2 separate regions of the Homo sapiens genome follow, and region 1 is linked to region 2. The links are contacts of gene promoters, found by promoter capture Hi-C in blood cells and fetal thymus (Javierre and others, 2016). All regions are on one chromosome and are shown on one strand. Each heading gives the region's core, a stretch centred on a gene start or on the middle of the fragment in contact. The rest is flanking DNA. Distances are from core to core; before and after follow the strand shown.

What was found. Contacts are between HindIII fragments. The CHiCAGO score rates a contact against its expected background, and 5 or more counts as called.
Region 1: a fragment that was not itself captured here is called in contact with the fragment with the promoter of ZNF439 in region 2 in 1 of 17 cell types (total CD4 T cells); the score reaches 5.1 in total CD4 T cells.

Annotation. Positions count from the first base shown.
Region 1 is chr19:12,129,680-12,134,542 of GRCh38, reverse strand. ZNF20 (zinc finger protein 20) reads left to right here. Exons shown (of 4, transcript NM_021143.4): 4 at 558-3,193. The coding sequence ends at 1,956. It overlaps ZNF625-ZNF20 (ZNF625-ZNF20 readthrough (NMD candidate)), which reads left to right. Exons shown (of 8, transcript NR_037802.1): 8 at 558-3,193. Among named protein-coding and RNA genes, the nearest start is that of ZNF20, 8.2 kb to the left of the region's middle. The HindIII fragment of the contact is 1,140 bases long and covers 850-1,989 here.
Region 2 is chr19:11,845,932-11,850,280 of GRCh38, reverse strand. It overlaps ZNF439 (zinc finger protein 439), which reads right to left and starts at 1,555. Exons shown (of 4, transcript NM_001348719.2): 1 at 1,351-1,555. The coding sequence starts at 1,413. The HindIII fragment of the contact is 1,093 bases long and covers 601-1,693 here.

The sequences.
Region 1 (4,863 bases), core at 170-2,669, 280 kb before region 2:
GCATCCCAAGTAGTTGGGATTACAAGCGCACGCCGTCACACCTAGCCAATTTTTGTATTTTTAGTAGAGACAGGGTTTCGCCATGTTGGCCAGGCTGATCTCAAACTCCTGGCCTCAAGCCATCTGCCCGCCTCAACCTCCCATGGTGCTGGGATTACAGGCGTGACCCACCATACCCAGCCAATATAGATCACTTTTTTATTTTTTTATTTTTTTTTGAGACAGAGTTTCGCCCTTGTCACCCAGGCTAGAGCACAATGGCGCAATCTCAGCTCACTGCAACCTCTGCCTCTGGGGTTCAGGCGATTCTCCCAACTCAGGCTCCCGAGTAGCTGGGATTACAGGCACCTGCCACCACGCCCAGCTAATTTTTGCATTTTTAGTAGAGACGGGGTTTCACCATGTTGGCCAGGATGGTCTCAAACTCCTGACCTCAGGTGATCTGCCCACCTCAGCCTCCCAAAGTGCTGGGATTACAGGAGTGAGCCACTGTGCCCGGCCCTATAAGTCACTTTTAATCAAACCGTTAATAATGTGCTTCTCATTTTTCACTGAAGTCTTATGAGAGAGAAACTCTGTGAAAGTAAAGAAAGTCATCACTGTGGAGAAAGCTTCAACCAGATTGCAGATGACATGCTGAACAGGAAAACTCTTCCTGGAATAACACCATGTGAAAGCAGTGTGTGTGGAGAAGTTGGCACGGGTCATTCATCTCTTAATACGCATATCAGAGCTGACACTGGACACAAGTCATCTGAGTATCAGGAATATGGAGAGAATCCATATAGAAATAAGGAATGTAAGAAAGCCTTCAGTTATCTTGACTCCTTTCAATCACATGATAAAGCTTGCACTAAAGAGAAACCCTATGATGGTAAAGAATGTACAGAAACCTTCATTTCCCATTCATGCATTCAAAGACACAGGGTAATGCACAGTGGAGATGGACCTTATAAATGTAAGTTTTGTGGGAAAGCCTTCTATTTTCTCAATTTATGTCTTATCCATGAACGAATTCACACTGGTGTGAAACCATATAAGTGTAAACAATGTGGTAAGGCCTTTACTCGTTCCACTACCCTTCCAGTACATGAAAGAACTCACACAGGAGTGAATGCCGATGAATGTAAAGAATGTGGGAATGCATTCAGTTTTCCTAGTGAAATTCGTAGACATAAAAGGTCTCACACTGGAGAAAAACCCTATGAGTGTAAGCAATGTGGGAAAGTCTTCATTTCTTTCAGTTCCATTCAGTATCATAAGATGACTCACACTGGAGAGAAACCCTATGAATGTAAGCAGTGTGGGAAAGCCTTTAGATGTGGCTCACACCTTCAAAAGCATGGAAGGACTCACACTGGAGAGAAACCCTATGAATGTAGGCAATGTGGTAAAGCCTTCAGATGTACCTCGGACCTTCAAAGGCATGAAAAGACACACACTGAGGATAAACCCTATGGATGTAAGCAGTGTGGGAAAGGCTTTAGATGTGCTTCACAACTTCAAATTCATGAAAGGACGCACAGTGGAGAGAAACCCCATGAATGTAAGGAATGTGGAAAAGTATTCAAGTATTTTTCTTCCTTGCGTATACATGAAAGGACGCACACTGGAGAGAAGCCCCATGAATGTAAGCAATGTGGAAAAGCATTCAGGTATTTCTCTTCCTTGCATATACATGAAAGGACACACACTGGAGATAAGCCATATGAGTGTAAGGTATGTGGCAAAGCCTTCACTTGTTCCAGTTCCATTCGATATCATGAAAGGACTCACACTGGAGAGAAACCCTATGAATGTAAGCACTGTGGTAAGGCCTTTATTTCCAATTACATTCGATATCATGAAAGGACTCACACTGGAGAGAAACCCTATCAATGCAAGCAATGTGGCAAAGCCTTTATTCGTGCCAGTTCATGTCGAGAACATGAAAGAACTCATACCATTAATAGATGAGAAATCCTTTTAGTGGAAGCAACGGGAGAAGCTTTCTGTTGTCCCACTTCCTTTGAAACACAAGAAAAGAGAGTGGTGAAAGAACCTCTGGATAACTGCTTTTTGAATTGAGAAGAGAGACTTGCGATAGGACAATAAAATCTAGAAGAACTTGGATGGTTTCGTAATACAATTCACCTATAGCCAATCTTGCATGAGATTTCAAAGGCACAGAAAAGGAAGGCATCAGTCACATATTAGAGGCCCCACACAGGGAGAGAGGTGTGTGGCTACCCGCTTCCAGCCCATTTTCCTGATTCTTTGGCTTGTTAATCGAGAATATCCCCCAAATCACTTGTCTCTGTTCCTCAGAGTTGTAGGTCTCCAGATATGTCCCCAGTGCTCCACATTAAAGATACATGCCCACTTTGCTGTTTCTTCAGAAATGTTAAAATGTTTACCAGAGAACTAATAAATGTTGTTATGGCTGGAAATACTCACTGATGCCCAACTCTTCTATAGATTGAGTTGGTTTAAGAGGTCTACTTTGTATTGCAAGCATTGTTGTTTCTACGGATTAGCGAGCCTGTTCTTGATTAAACCAACTAGATGGGAGCTTGTTCCTCTGCTGCATTGTGCAGTGATTGGTCTCACCAAGGGCTTTTATGTGAGAAGAGCCACCTTGCTCTTATCAGGAAATTTCAAGCATTTGCTGTTATTCACAACTGAATGTAATGTCTCACTTCGTTTTTAACTTTGTATGAGTATACCTGACTAAAAACACTAATGCGGTTTCTTGGCAACAAATACTTCTGTTCATGTATTTTAGAAATAAGCTTATTAACTGTTTATAACAACTGCATACTAACAATTATTATTTTTTAATGAAGAAGCTACATTACAACCTCCCATTAACATCATGTATTAGATCAAGTTGATAATGTTACCATGTTATCCGGTGGTCACTGTGAGTCAGTGTTGCCATGTGGATGTCAGGCATATTTTTCCTCATGTAGATTTTACTTTTCATGCTTATATTCTTAGTTTTTATCTGGATCATGAATTTTCATCTATTCTAAATACCAAAGGTGATCTCATGTTCTTATGAGTGACTTCTGACCAAAGACCACCAGTGGCATAAGTGTCGTCAAAGAGGGTGTAATAATATACTGTGGTAATGAATATGACCAAAAGCCATAGATGACTGTGAGATGTGTGAGATATTAAAAGATAGTCACATTTCGTGAGAAGAGAAAAATTTGGGGTATGTTTGCAATTTAAAGTGTTTTCTTCTGTCACATTTCAAGACATGGTTAAAGAATGAGGTTTTTTTTTATTTTAATTTTTTTTTTTTTGAGACGGAGTCTTGCTCTGTCGCCCAGGCTGGAGTGCAGTGACTCGATCTCGGCTCATTGCAAGCTCCGCTTCCTGGTTCACGCCATTCTCCTGCCTCAACCTCCCAAGTAACTGGGACTACAGGTGCCCGCCACCGCGCCTGGCTAATTTTTTGTATTTTTAGTAGAGACAGGGTTTCACCATGGTCTCGATCTCCTGACTTCGTGATCCACCCGCCTCGGCCTCCCAAAGTGCTGGGATTACAGGCATGAGCCACTGTGCCCTGCCAAGAATTAGTTATTTTTGTATTGATCCATCATGGTCACTGAAGAGCATCATCTCACATTGCAGGTGTATGACATGTGCCTGTTCAGGGGCAAAAGACTCGGCCTTCTGGCGAGGGGAGGCCAGCCATCAGACTTCTGGACCAGTTTTTACCATACTATTCTCTAAACCCTGATATATTCCCTACAATTTATGGACATTGTTAACCATAACATACCTCAGTTAAAATCTATAAATTCACTTCTTATCAAGGTATATACTATGATTTTATTTATTTATTTTTTGTAGAGATGGAGTCTCCCTGTTTCCCAGGCTGGTCATTGACTGCTGGATCATGTGATTCTTCTGTCTCCATCTCCCCAAGTTCTGGGATTACAGACATGAGCCACCACAATTGGCTACTACTTTTTTAAAAAAATCACCTTGAGTCCTATGGGGCCAATATGTTTTTGAAAACTGAATTTCCTGCCCAGTAAAGAACAAAGTCAGCATCACTATTCCAATCAAGTCTTTCTTTCTCTGGTAACATGCTGTTGATGCAAACTTGTCAGGAACCCTCTTATGCTAATATTATGAAGCTAATGACATCGTGGAAAAGTCATGCATGGAACAATCCGATCATTTCCTTTAAGGTGTCATGGGTGCTTCTCTTCACAAAAGCTTATTTCAGTCTCCCTAGAGTAAAAATCCCAGTCCCAGCAGACATAGAAGCAATCACTGACTGACCAAACCTTAACTATGTGTGATGACATATGGAAAATACCTTGATTTGTGAGATATGAATTTTTTTTTTTTGGAGACAGAGTCTGGAGGACAGTGGTGCAATCTTGGCTCACCGCAACCTCTGCCTCCTGGGGTCAAGTGATTCTCCTGCCTCAGCCTCCCAAGTAGCTGGAATTACAGGCACCTGCCACCATGCCTGGCTATTTTTTTGTATTTTTAGTAGACAGGGTTTCACCATGTTGGCCAGGCTGGTCTCAAACTCCTGACCTCATGTGATCCACCTGCCTCGGCCTCCCAAAGTGCCAGGATTACAGGTGTGAGCCACCATGCCTGGCCAAAAATTCCTTTTTTTTTTTTTGAGATGGAGTCTTGCTCTGTTGCCCAGGCTGGAGGGCAGTGGCGCGATCTCGGCTCACTGCAAGCCTCCGCCTCCCTGGTTCACGCCATTCTCCTGCCTCAGCTTCCCGAGTAGCTGGGACTACAGGTGCCCGCCACCACGCCTGGCTATTTTTTTGTATTTTTTTTTTTAGTAGAGACAGGGTTTCACCATGTTAGCCAGGATGGTCTCGATCTCCTGGCCTCGTG
Region 2 (4,349 bases), core at 306-2,805:
CCAACATGGTGAAACCCCATCTCTACTAAAAATACAACAATTAGCTGGGGGTGGTGGTGCGTGCCTGTAATCCCAGCTACTCAGGAGGCTGAGGCAGGAGAATCCCTTGAACCCAGAAGGCAGAGGTTGCAGTGAGCCGAGATCGAGCCATTGCACACCAGCCTGGGCGACAGAAGGAGACTCCGTCTCAAACAAAAACAAAAACAAACAAAGTACCTTCCCAGCTAAGTGAAGTGACTGGCTCTTGGCCAAGGGAACCCCCAAAACACCCTGAAAATTGAGTGCCTCTGTATGACAGGATGGGAGGTGAGACAGGTCTCCTTATACCCTCTCCCTTTAGGAGTTTACATGCAGCAACTGACGCACATTCATGTAAAAACAGACATTCTCTGACTGGAAAAACAGACTCCTTGTGGCAACAAGATACCAAATTACAAACAAGACCTAAGGCCACGCAAGGCAAAGGTAAAGTTACGTCTTAGAATTCATAAAATCTAGAGAAACAGGACTGTTTTTTGGCTGGGATGGAATGAAGTGGCAGATAACAGACCCCCTTCCTTCAGCATTCCTTCCTACCTCCTCCAAACTTTAGACAAAGCTTCACACTCTCAACCAGCTGCCACCTACAGAATCCCTCAACCACCTGTGCCTCCTAACCCCCCTTCCACAGGTCCCACCCTTTCTGCCAATGGAATTTACACCTTCCAGCCTTGATCCATCATTTTCCCTGCAATTCCTGTCTCTCTGAAATGAATAAAACCAAACTGTCCTGAGCCGCCTCCGGACCACTTACTCCAGGCTGCTTGGGGTTGTGTTTCCCTCGGCCAAGGTCTCTCCTACTCGGCTCTGAATACACTTCTGTATTTTACATAGTCTGTTTTTTTTCCGTTGACAAACCACAAGCCAGGACCGGGTGTTTCTCATTCGTGAATGGCTGTTTCCTCAAATGAACTTTTTGTTAACGTACCTCAGTATAATTTTTAACAGGAGAAAGTGGAGGCTGTGGGCCCCACAGACCGCTGCTCCTCCTACGGACGAAATCCACACCCGAGTCGAAATCCGCGCATGACCCTCCCGTGGCCCCCGCACAAGCTGGGGCGTCGGGCTGCGGGCGCGGAGCTGCACAAAAGGGCTTCGGGGCCAAGGCCGCAGTCGACGGGCAGGGACGGGACAGGACGCCCGGAGTCCCGGCTGCCGGCCCACCCACATCCAGCGGCCGCGGGGACCGAGGGCCGAGCAGCTCTAGGAGGACTCGGTCCCAGACCCCGGAGTCGCCCACAGGGAGGCCCGGGTCCCGCCAGTTCCAGGCAGCCCCTCCCCCATCGCACCACTCCCGGCCAGCACACGCACCATTTCCCGGCTTTCAGATGTACCGGGGTCCTCTCTACAGCTCCTGTGAGTAAAGCAGGGCATAGCGCAGGTGACAGAGCGACAGAAATCTGGGTAGAGGCACTAGGTCCCTCTCGGGGCTGGAAAGGCCAGATCCCAACCGCCGCCCTCGCAGCGACAAAGGTGACGGCAGGAATGCAACATCCTCCGTGCCTGGATGCACAGTGGGCAGGGCCCCGAGCCAGTGCCTCTGATTGGATGGAATGTTCGGCCCCGCCCCCCACGTCTAAGTGACAGCGGAAGCCCTGGGTATCAGGCCCTGCGGAGCCAGACTGACAGATTCTAGCAACAGCTTCTCTAAGCTTACACGAGCTGCTTCCTGCACTCGGGTTATTGGATAGTTGCATTTCAGCCAAACTTGCTATTGTTAGAAGAGAACACTAGCGTCTTCCTCACTCAAAGGACTGTCCCCGCTCCTTCGTTCTGCACGGGGTCACAGGAGTGTGCAGGGAATTTCAGACTCAGTGTCCACAGGAGCCATCTCCTGCCTCAGAGCAGCAGGGGAACCGAGACCAGGCCAGGCAAGACTGCACCAGGAGGAGAGGCATATTTCCTCGAGCGGGCCGGAATTGGGGATGAGGCATGGCCAAGACTTGCTCACACACCCCCATCCCCTCCTCACAGTATGAAAATGCTCCGTCCTTCCAGATCTTCATTTTCACCTGCAGGAAACTCTCACCTGGGGTTAAGCTTCGGACCTAAATAAACTGTCAACCTCATAAACCTTTTATCCAGGTGACGCCACCAAACAATTGTGTCTCTAGCCTGATTTTCACACATTTTCTTTATATATACAAATAACTCTGACTCCAGCGACCCCATGTATGTCAAACCCCAAACCCTGCCCAGAAGACAGCCCCAGGCTCCAGAGGTACAACACCAGAAAGGACAGAACCCCACAAATGCGTCTGCACGAAGGTCTTCTGCTTTCCAGGGCCCTACAGCTTCTCGGAATCCACACTCCTTCTGGAGCTGCTCTGAGCAGCTGGAGGCCACCTGTAGGGGAGGGCGGGCTGCCCAGGAAGCCCCCAGGAAAAGCTCCTTTCCCTTCCTTTGCAGGCTCCAGACTGGCCTCAGCGTGGAGTCACTGGCCTCGGGCTCTGCTGCCCCTGCAGGTTATTCAGCTACTTCTCACCCCATTGATCAGTTCCATGACACAAACACCCTCAATCCCATTGTGTGAATAAGACACCAGCAGAGTCCCTGCTCTCCTCCTATGTTTATGTATAAAGTGGGGAAGGAAAATTCTAAGATAACTTAAGTACATTTAAAAGACTTCCAGATCGCGGTGGAGGTGGCAGCGGAGGGACCCACGGTCACTGACACTGCAGCACCTCCAGGCCTGTCTGGTCAGAGAAAGGGTGGAAAGCTGGAGATGGATGTGGATACGTGGAGGGAGCAGCCCTGGGAACTGGGCTCTGCAGCAGCGCGGCTCTAGGGCCTGGAGCCCGGGAGAGCACAGATGGGGGCTCCTGGGACAGGATGCTCAAAGAAGAGTCAGGTGGCTTCCATGAAATGGGGTGCTATGGCAGCTGGTGAGGGCCTGTGGCTATCATAATTTGGGACGTGAAAACTTGGATTCCGTGGGAATTTATGAAGAGGAAGGCTCTGATGACAAAGAAGTCATCGATGAGGAGGGGGATGAGGGTCACTGGCAAGCTCGCTTCCTTATGGAAAGAAAAGTGAACACCCAACTACTGCTGCAAAATGGGGTGAAAGGATGAGACTCTCACTGTCAGGGAATAAACTGCTGCAGAACTCTTAGAGATTGCAAAGACCTTTCAACAACAGCCTGGGAGGCCGGGTGCCATGGCTTACACCTGCAATCCCAACATTTTAGGAGGCCAAAGTGGGAGGATCACTTGAAGCCCGAAGTTGAAGACCACCCTGAGCAGTGAAGTGAGACACTCCCATCTCCATAATTTTTTTTTTATTAGCCTGGAGAGGTGGTGTGTACCCTTAGTCTCAGCTACTCAGGAGCCTGAGGCAGGAGGATTACTCGAGCCCCAAAGTTTGAGGCTGCTGTGAGCTTTGATCAGGCTACTGTACTTCAGCAAGACACGGTCTCAAAAAAAAAAAAATCCCACCAAATTCCCTGGGGAAACCCTGACCCCCTTGGATGGTCTAATTGTAAAACACAGAGGGTGGTGACGTTTCCTTATGGACTGGATCATTCTAGCCATGTAAGAGGCTTGGACTACTGAGGATTTACCAGGCGGATGACCTCCTTGCTGTCAATGTAAAAGGCCCCTGGTGAAACCATCCCTTTAAACTTTATCAAATTCATCAGGGAGGAAGGGAGGAGGAAAACTTAAACCAAGCTGGCAGCACCTTCAGCATTAATCATTAAGTCAGCTTGTTCTCTGACCTTCCTCATATTTGTTTCATACCTAGTGTCCTAGAATCCCACAGACCCTAAATGATAGTTCCCGTTAACTGCTCTATAGACATCAACTTGAACATTAGATGTTCTCCCTTTGAATTTCCATTCGAAATATTTCCTTTTCAGGGCTGGGTGCATTGGTTCATGACTGTAATCTCAGCACTTTGGGAGGCTGAGGTTGGGGAATCACTTGAGCCTGGGCGTTCAAGAACAGCCTGGAAAATACAGTGAGACTCCATCTGTACAAAAAAATTTATAAACAATTGGGCATGGTGGCATGTGCCTTTATTCCCTGCTACTTGGGAGGCTGAGGCAGGAGGATCCCTTGATCCCAGGAGTTTCTGCAGTGAGCTATATGATCCCACCACTGCACTCCAGCCTGGGAAACAGAACCACACTATGTCTCTTAAAAAACAAAAAAGAAAAAAGAAATCCAGACATTTGTTGGTCTTTGGATTATTGGAGAGCATTTATCTGACACTTAGCCCAAAGTTTGATACCAATATATAGAATTATTAGAAAGGGGCACTTTGAGACTGGGACACAGCTCTGCAGGAAGCTTTCGACAGGTTAATGT